3 separate regions of the Homo sapiens genome follow, and all the other regions are linked to region 1. The links are contacts of gene promoters, found by promoter capture Hi-C in human tissues and cell types (Jung and others, 2019). All regions are on one chromosome and are shown on one strand. Each heading gives the region's core, a stretch centred on a gene start or on the middle of the fragment in contact. The rest is flanking DNA. Distances are from core to core; before and after follow the strand shown.

Region 1 (3,150 bases), core at 250-2,749:
CAATTCCATTGTCCTTGGATACCTTGCTTCTCTCTGACCTCTCAAATGCCTGAATCCTCTCTCCATCCGGGGCTTTCCCGTCCACCAGAACATTCTTCCAAGTCACTGACATTGAACGTTTTAGGCAGGGCTCAGTGGCCCGTGCCTGTAATCCCAACACTTTGGGAGGACAAGGCAAGAGGATCACTAAAGGCCAGGAGTTCAAGACCAGCCTGAGCCTTGCTCTGTTGCCCAGGCTGGAGTGCAGTGGCATGATCATAGCTCACTGCAGCCTCGAGCTCCTGCGCTCAAGCAATCCTCCCGCCTCAACCTCCTGAGTAGTTGGGACTCCAGGCATGAGCCACCATGCCTGGCCGCAACATTCAGATGGATTTTTAAACTACCTGAGCTAAGTTAATTTCCTCATAGATTGGATGTGGATGTGAGAGCAAAAGAAGAGTCAAGGATGACCCAAGGGTTTGCTTTGAGCACATTCCTCAGTGCTTCCAGGGCATATGGCCTCTGAATGGTGCCCATGGGCTTATAAATCCATCTCCTCCCAAGAGATAACACATTTATTTTGTCCCTGGACCTTATGAAAGTTGTCAGAATCAAAATAGAATCACTAGTGTTTTTTAAGGAAAACAACAAACAAACAAAAAACCTGAACTGGATGCAGTGGTTCATGGCTGTAGTCGCAACTCAGGAAGCTGAGGCAGGAGGACTATTTGAGCTCAGGAGGTTGAGGCTGCAGTGAGCTATGATCACACCATTGCACTCCAGCCTGGGCGACAGAAAGAGGCCCATCTCTAAAAAACAAACATAAAAAGACTTCACTCTCATCACTCTTGAGATTAAGGATTTACCTAAGTAGTAAAATATGTCAGATCAGATTCTGGCCTCAGGAACTCTGAATCTGGGATGTGAAAAGGTTTCTGGAGAGGCATTCTGTTTCTCATATCATTAACCACAGGAAGATATTATTTGGTATACAAGAGGACATTGCTTAAAGAGGTGAGAAACAGAAACTATCTCTCCCTTATATTTCTCCAAATACCTTGTAAAGTTGTGAGTTAAAGAAAAAAGAATGATGTTCACTCAAAGGGGAGATGCAAAAATAAAAAGGTAAAACCTTTTCCCTTACCCTAAGGAGATAATGTGTGCATTTTAAAAAAGTTCTAATATTGTTTCTGCAAGTCAATATATAAGCATTATTGAAAAGTCCAATCTTGCCTGTGTTTTACAGCTCTCAGCTCCTTTCAGGAAGCAACTAAATCAGAAAACAGTGTTCTCTCTTCCTTGGAGCTGGCACAGGTTTTGATAACATCGATTGAATGCCAAGCGTAAGTACAGATTGGAAGTTAGAAGTATTGCTATTGACCGTTTTCTAATATGTCCTTCAGCTCAGTAATTAATCGATTTGTGACAAAATGAATAAGAAGCTGAGGTCTTCTAAGAGCTTACCATGTGGCAGACGCGAGCTCAGTGCTGTACATTCGCATTCATGCTCTTCATCCCTGTCTCTCAAGCCACTCGTCACACCCACACTCTCCGGGCCAGGAGGCTTGCACAACCTGCACTGGGAAACTTTCTCCCACCTGTTCTTGACTCCTGAAACCCCTCCACGGTGCCATCAGCCTGATCCACTAATAGCAAAACGCCTCACATCCCAAACTAACTTCCAAATAGTCCCTCCTTGTTCTGACAAAAACTGACTCTTCCCTGAGGACGATGCTCACATCTTCTCTCATGCGCTGGCTGTTTTTCTTTTTCTTTTTTTGAGATGGAGTCTCCCTCTGTAGCCAGGCTGGAGTGCAGTGGTGCGGTCTCAGCTCACTGCAACCTCCACCTCCCGGGTTCAAGTGGTTCTCCTACCTCAGCCTCCCAAGTAGCTGGGATTACAGGCACACACCACCACACCCAGCTAATTTTTGTATTTTTAGTGGAGACGGGGTTTCACCATGTTGACCAGGATGGTCTCAATCTCTTGACCTCGTGATCTGCCCGTCTCAGCCCCCCAAAGTGCTGGGATTACAGGCGTGAGCCACTGCGCCCAGCCACTGGCTGTTTTTCATTCCAGGCCCTCCTGCCACCTCCTGCAGACCTGGAGGTGATGGAGGGACCCTGCTGGTCCTCTTTTCCCCTTCCAGAACCTTCTCCTTCCCTTCTACTGCAAATCTCGTACCATCATCATCTATCACCCCTGAAACTGTCCCTAGAAACTTTATACAATTAATCAGAAGAGAAGGGAGGGAGAGAAACAAAAATAAGCCAAGCTTGCACATACTCAGTGTTAGTCATGGGGTCAGCTGTTCTCTGATCCTTCCTCATAGTGTTTTGCTACCTATTGCTCCAGAATCACACAGACCCTGTCACAAGATTAGAGTCCCCCTTCACTGCTCCACAGATAACAACTGAACATTGTGAAATGTTGCTTTCCATTTGAGATATTCTTGTAGGTCATGCATACTGATGAAACTACTGACGCCAGCTGGTCTGAAGGACCCCACGAGAAGCTGACTCACTGAAGAATGCAGTTTCTACATCCTGATGATTTCATCCCCCTTTCCCCAACCAATCAATGACTATAGTTTTTCAGCCCCTCACCCCCCATAATCCCCTTGAAAACCTCAGCCTAGAACTCTTCGGGGAGATGGATTTGAGGGTCTTCTCCCATCTGCTCACTCGGCCTCCCTGCTGTCATCAAACCCTCTCTCTGCTGCAAAGCCTGCTGTCTTGGTGTATTGGTCTGTTTCTGCACAACAGGCATACAAACATGTTGGTCCTGTAATACCCCTGCCCAACATTGTTCACCACCTTTTTCAACAACATCAGTTCTCAGCCCATTGGCATCCTCCCCAATACTTCTCCTCTCTTTTCTGAGCATGTTCAATGCATAGATAATAATCTTTCCAAAACTCCACCATCATAGGTCATTAAACTTCTCTCCTCCTTCAGGCATCTTGACCTCTACCCTCCTAGAAACAGTCACTCACTTTGATGGCAATACATGGATCTTGTCATGCACATTCATTGCAGTCCTTAGCCCCTTTTAACTTCTAATTACTCTGGGGCTCAGTCGTTGCTGTTGTTTTCATCTCTGTCTCTACTTACTCCGTTGGAGATCTCATGTGGTTCCATGGCTTTAAATACTACCCACACACTGATAAC
Region 2 (2,798 bases), core at 85-2,584, 49 kb before region 1:
GGATTGTAAATACACCAATCGGCACTCTGTATCTAGCTCAAGGTTTGTAAACACACCAATCAGCACCCTGTGTCTAGCTCAGGGTTTGTGAATGCACCAATCCACACTCCGTATCTAGCTACTCTGGTGGGGCCTTGGAGAACCCTTGTGTCTAGCTCAGGGATTGTAATTACACCAATGGGCACTCTGTATCTAGCTCAAGGTTTGTAAACACACCAATCAGCACCCTGTGTCTAGCTCAGGGTTTGTGAATGCACCAATGGACACTCTAGCTACTATGGTGGGGCCTTGGAGAACCTTTGTGTGGACACTCTGTGTCTAGCTAATCTGGTGGGGAGGTGGAGAACCTTTATGTGGACACTCTGTGTCTAGCTAATCTGGTGGGGAGGTGGAGAACCTTTGTGTCTTCCTCAGGGATTGTAAACGCACCAGTCAGCGCCCTGTCAAAACAGACCACTCAGCTCTACCAATCAGCAGGATGTGGGTGGGGCCAGATAAGAGAATAAAAGCAGGCTGCCTGAGCCGGCACTGGCAACTCGCTCGGGTCCCCTTCCACACCGTGGAAGCTTTGTTCTTTCGCTGTTTGCAATAAATCTTGCAGCTGCTCACTCTTTGGGTCCACACTGCCTTTATGAGCTGTGACACTCACTGGGAAGGTCTGCAGCTTCACTCCTGAAGCCAACGAGACCACAAACCCACGGGGAGGAATGAACAACTCCAGACACGCCACCTTAAGAGCTGTAACACTCACCGCGAAGGTCCGCAGCTTCACTCCTGAGCCAGAGATACCACGAACCCCCTCAGAAGGAAGAAACTCTGAACACGTCCAAACACCAGAAGGAACAAACTCCGGACACGCCGCCTTTAAGAACTGTAACACTCATCTTGAGGGTCCGCGGCTTCATTCTTGAAGTCAGTGAGACCAAGAACCCACCAATTCCGGACACACTATCTTGATGGATATGGAGTCATAGCGTTTGAAAAGAAAAAAAATATTGAGAACTGAGAAAAGGCACTTTGGGAGGTCGAGGTGGGCAGATCACCTGAGGTCAGGAGTTCAAGACCAGCCTGGACAACACGGTAAAACCCCGTCTCTATTAAAAATACAAAAATTAGATGGGCGTGGTGGCAGGTGACTGTAATCCCAGCTACTTGGGAGGCTGAGACAGGAGGATGGCTGAAACCCAGGAGGCAGAGGTTGCAGTGAGCCGAGACCATGCCATTGCTCTGCAGCCTGGCAACAAGGCATGCCATTGCCCTGCAACAAGAGAGAAATCCCCCCGCCCCCCCCAAAAAAAAAAAAACTAGAAAAGGAAAGGAAGGTATAGTGGAGAGTGCCGTTAGTTCACTGAAATTCATTTTCCATTTCTTCCTGAGCACAGTCTAGACTACATTTTCCAGCGACTTTTGCAATTAGGTATGGCGTCCAGTCCAGTGGATCATGAGCAAGCAATGAGGAACCCAGGCCTTCAGGGAGTGGGCATGTCTCGTCCATGCTCTTTCCCCTTCTCACAATGGAAACTCAGACATGCCTCTATAATCAGCTTCAGCCATGCAGAAGACAATTCTCCCAGAGAACGGGGCAGGGGAGGACAGAGCAACGACTCAAAAGAAACCTGTGTCCTTAAATAGTGGTGGAACAGAACAGGCTGCACCTGGAACATTTATTTTGGATGGTTATACAAAAGAAACTTCTTCATCTTTTAAACTTCTATACTGTTGAGACTGTGTTATGGCAGCTCAGCCTTTTACCCTACCTAATATAAAAATGATTCTCAAATCAGATCAGAAAGAGATTCTCCAGGTCCCATCTTTCCTTTACCAGCTCTCCATATGTCACATGTTGGCTGGGCAGGGTGGCTCACATCTATATCGCAACACTTTGGGAGGCAGGTATGAGAGGATCACTTGAGTTCAGGAGGTTGAGACCAGCCTGGGCAACGTGGCGAAGCCCTGTCTCTACAAAAAATAAAAAAAAATTAGCCAGGTATGAGGAGGTGCACCTGTAGTCCCAGCTACTCAGGAGGCTGAGGTGGGCTGCACTCCAGCCTGGGCAACAGAATGAGACCCTGTCTCAAAAAAAAAAAAAAAAAAAAAAAAAAAAAAGTCACACATCACTGTGCGGAAAGCCAAACCTTGGCCAAGACGAGGGCCAATGATTCCCCCAGCCCCTCAACTCTTTCCTCAGGCAAGCAGCTCACTCGAGCAGCAGTGATGATCTTCAGCTCTCCCTTTGGAAGAGTTTGTTGCTGTCATCTTAAGGCAGCAGGCAGCCAAAGGTTCTCAGGCTCGCGAGGGCTGGGTGACTTTCCTTCTGAGCAGGGGCAACCCAGTCCATAGTTCACAGAATCTCTTTCCTACCCAGAGGCCAGCAAGGAATTGTGAATGCAGGAGTCAAGTGAAATATGTGGAAATAGCCCGAATGCCTGCGTCTTTTAAGACTCACATATGAGAAGGAAATAATCATTTTTCCAGAGAGAATTCTGTATGGAGGATTATTCAGAGTGAGGTGTTACCCTACTGCTCAGAAGCAGGCAATGAGTTTAACTCATTCCCTGAAGTGATTTTTACCTTTGATTTTAAAAAGTGATGGAGATCAAAGAACATGATATGTTTGGGTTGTGAGTAGATTTATACACAAGATTAATGTGTTACTGATTAATACATTAGATTTTCATTCATATGTAGGTTTAAAGTGAACTTTCTGTAATGGTGGGTATGTTCTGTATCTGTGCTGACCTATATGGTAGCCACTATCCACATGTAGCTAATAAGCACCTGAAATGTAGCTAGTACAA
Region 3 (3,108 bases), core at 327-2,826, 54 kb after region 1:
CGAGACCAGCCTGGCCAACATGGTGAAACCCTGTCTCTACTAAAAATACAAAAATTAACCGGGCATAGTGGTGGGCACCTGTAATCCATCTGCTTGGGAGGCCGAGGCAGGAGAATTGTTTCAACCCGGGAGGTGGAGGTTGCAGTGAGCCAAGATCGTGCCATTGCACTCCAGCCTGGGTGACAGAGCAAGACTCTGTTTCAAAAATAAATGAATATATATATTGAATATATATATACATATTTTTTTTTTTGTAGAGATGGGGTCTCACCTTGTTGTACAGGCTGGTCTTGAACTCCTGGCCTCAAGCAGTCCTCCTGCCTTGGCCTCCCAAAGCGCTGGGATTGCAGGTGCGAGCCATTGCACCTGACCCCAATAAACATTTTAAGAATGTTTGGTGCAAGCCAGGGGTGAGTTGCGCCAGAGGTCTCATATCCAGAGGTCTGAGAACCAGGAGAGTCAATGTTGTCAGCCTCAATTTGAAGCAGAAGGCCTGGGAATGAGAGGAGAATGGGGCTCAGAGGGTGCTGGAGCAAGTCTGGAGTCTGAAGGCCAGAAAATCTAGAGTTCTGATGTCTGAAGATGGGGGAAAAAGATGGATGTTCCAGCTGCAGAAGAGAGAGCAAATTTGCCCTTCCTCGGCCTTTTTGTTGTATCAGGGCCCTAAAGTGGTTGGATGATGGCCATCTACACTGGGGAAGGCAAATCTTCCTCACTCAGTCTCCTGATTCAAATGCTAATCTCTTCCTGAAACGCCCTGCGGACACACCCAGAAATAATCTTTTACCAGCTGTCTGGGTATCCTTTAACCCAGTTAAGTTGACCCATAAAACTAACAATCACATTGGCATTTTAAATACATATAAAATCATTTGCATTAAAATAGTAATACATTCACATTGGCATTTTAAATACATATAAAATCATTTACATTAAAATAGTAATACATATATTTGTAATCGATATAAAACATATATACGTATTTAGATATGTATGCTCTGTAATTCAGCAATTTCACTTCTAGGAATAAATTCTACAGAAATAACCAAATGAATATACTAAAAAGTGCTCTACACTTTTAATGGAGTGTTGTTTATATTTCACTGGAAACAAATGTCCATAAATTGGGGATCGGTTAAATAAATTATAGGACTTTTTGAACTAGATGGAATACTGTACAGCCTCTGAAAATAACATACTCATTGAATGCAAAGATATTCACAGCATTAATAATAACAAATTAACATTAATTAAAGTGACCAAAAGCAGGCTATTAAGCAACCCATATGGTAGAATCACATCAATATAAAACTGTATACATCTAATAAGAATAGAAATTTTTAAATTGGTAAAAAACAAAAGGCAATCATGGTTGCCTCTGGGCGATAGGTTTGTATGTGATTTTCACTTCTTGGTGAACCCGCTAAAGATTCAGTTTTTTTGTTTGTTTTGTTTTTCAGGTTTCCTGCACCACAAGGTTCCTTTCACTTAAAAAAATTTTTTTTTATATTACACCATCTTTATTTGTACCTTACCGTCTAAGGCTATCAATCAAACTTCAGTAAGAACAGTTTCAGCATCAACTAACGAACAGTAGCCAAACCAGAGAGCAGTCAAAAGTGTTTTAAAGGGAGCAGCATCAGCTGATGTTCTGCCAAGTCTCTGGGTGTTCAGGACCATGGTCCCCCGGCACTTCCAGGCCCCTGTGGGCTGCAGGTGGATCCCCAGGAGCCAAAGGGCCGCTCAGGAAAGGGTGGAACTTGGCCTCGCAATCAGCTGGCTTCTGCCTATTATGGTCATCTTCTTTCCAGAGGTCTTGCTATCTCAGTGGACGTGGCTGTCATCCAGCCGTCCTGGGCTGTTTTCTCATAGAAGAGGATCTCCCTCTGAAAACTGTGTCATCCTTCAATTCCTGGGCCAAGTCTGGGGACACATCTTTTCTTAAAGCTTGCTGGTATGACGAGCAGTTCCCATTTTCCTGCACTTTACGAAGTCTCTGAGGTGCAAGCAGTAGACATCCTTCTCCATGGACTCCCCCTGAGGCTGCTTCATGTGTTTTCAGGGCAGTTCAGGCAGATCGGAAACCACTGGCTGCAGCTTCGGGATGTCCCTCTCCAGCTGTGCCCTTGAACCCTGCAGAGAGACCTGCTCGCTGAGCAGACCTTGGGCTTGTGCTGTGAGTTCTGTACTCCTTTGGGTTTCTTCTCACAATCGTATGTCTGCTTTACCAGTCTTTCCCTCGGGACATTCGAAGGAAGCACCTAAATTACCATTGTCATCCATGCTTTCAGAGGGACTTGCGGCCACGATGCTGGGGGACCACCCTGTTCTGCTTCCCTGTTCCCCTCCACTGCCAAGTCCTCATTTTCCATGTCGTCTTTCCTGGTGCAGATGAAGGGTGCTCAGCAGAGCGTGAGCCACCAGGGAAGCCACTCGCCTACTCCAGTTCGAATATTGGGGACTTGAGGCCATCTTGTCTTTTTTGTGTGTGTGTGGCGTCTGATTTACAACTTCTTGGTCGGGCAGCTCTGTGGGTTGCTGATGGTCCATGCTGTCATTCACATCGTCCGTGGTGTGCACTGGAAGATCTCCATGCTGTGAAGCGTGCAGGATGTGCTTCACATCAGTCACTTGGGGAAGTTCAGGAGGCTGCTTTTTCATGCTTTTTTCAGAAGCTCGCCTAGGTTAGGTCCTGATCGGAAGACCTGCTCATTTCCATTAGAACCTTCAAGCAGAGTGTTTGGAGCAATCAAGGACTGGCCCCAGCATGGATAACAGGTAGCTACCACTGGTGTGGGCTGCTGGCTGCATCTTGGCGCAGGCCTTTCTGTGGGCCTCACCTTAGACTGAAGCCCTTTGGGCCAGCCCTTCCCTCCTTCTCACTGCGTGTCGTCTCCTGACCAGAGAGGCCATCACAGCGGTGCACGCCCAGCTCACCCATAGTATCCCTAGGGTCACTGGCACTGGTCCCAGGATTCTGTACATCACTACTTACTGCTGCCCACAGGTGGGCCAGCAGCAGTTGAGGAGGCATTTCGTGGTGAGCAGCAGGTCCTTCATGGCTCTTGAGGGCTCCACAGCTCTTCCTCTTTTCTCTACTGGTATGTG

What was found. The method cuts DNA at HindIII sites, captures the fragments that hold promoters and counts their contacts. A contact is called where the count stands out against the background at its distance.
Region 2: a contact is called between a fragment that was not itself captured here and the fragment with the promoter of C10orf126 in region 1, in 2 of the 25 tissues and cell types used here (IMR-90 fibroblasts and fat).
Region 3: a contact is called between a fragment that was not itself captured here and the fragment with the promoter of C10orf126 in region 1, in 1 of the 25 tissues and cell types used here (bladder).

Annotation. Positions count from the first base shown.
Region 1 is chr10:28,844,757-28,847,906 of GRCh38, reverse strand. C10orf126 (chromosome 10 open reading frame 126) reads right to left here and starts at 1,499. Exons shown (of 5, transcript NR_164114.1): 1 at 1,444-1,499; 2 at 644-788. The HindIII fragment of the contact is 9,674 bases long and covers 1-3,150 here.
Region 2 is chr10:28,893,900-28,896,697 of GRCh38, reverse strand. No RefSeq gene overlaps it. Among named protein-coding and RNA genes, the nearest start is that of C10orf126, 49 kb to the right of the region's middle. The HindIII fragment of the contact is 3,266 bases long and covers 1-2,798 here.
Region 3 is chr10:28,791,297-28,794,404 of GRCh38, reverse strand. All of the region lies in intron 2 of LINC01517 (long intergenic non-protein coding RNA 1517), which reads right to left. It overlaps LINC00837 (long intergenic non-protein coding RNA 837), which reads left to right. Exons shown (of 2, transcript NR_038376.1): 2 at 1,461-3,108. Among named protein-coding and RNA genes, the nearest start is that of LINC00837, 3.2 kb to the left of the region's middle. The HindIII fragment of the contact is 7,810 bases long and covers 1-3,108 here.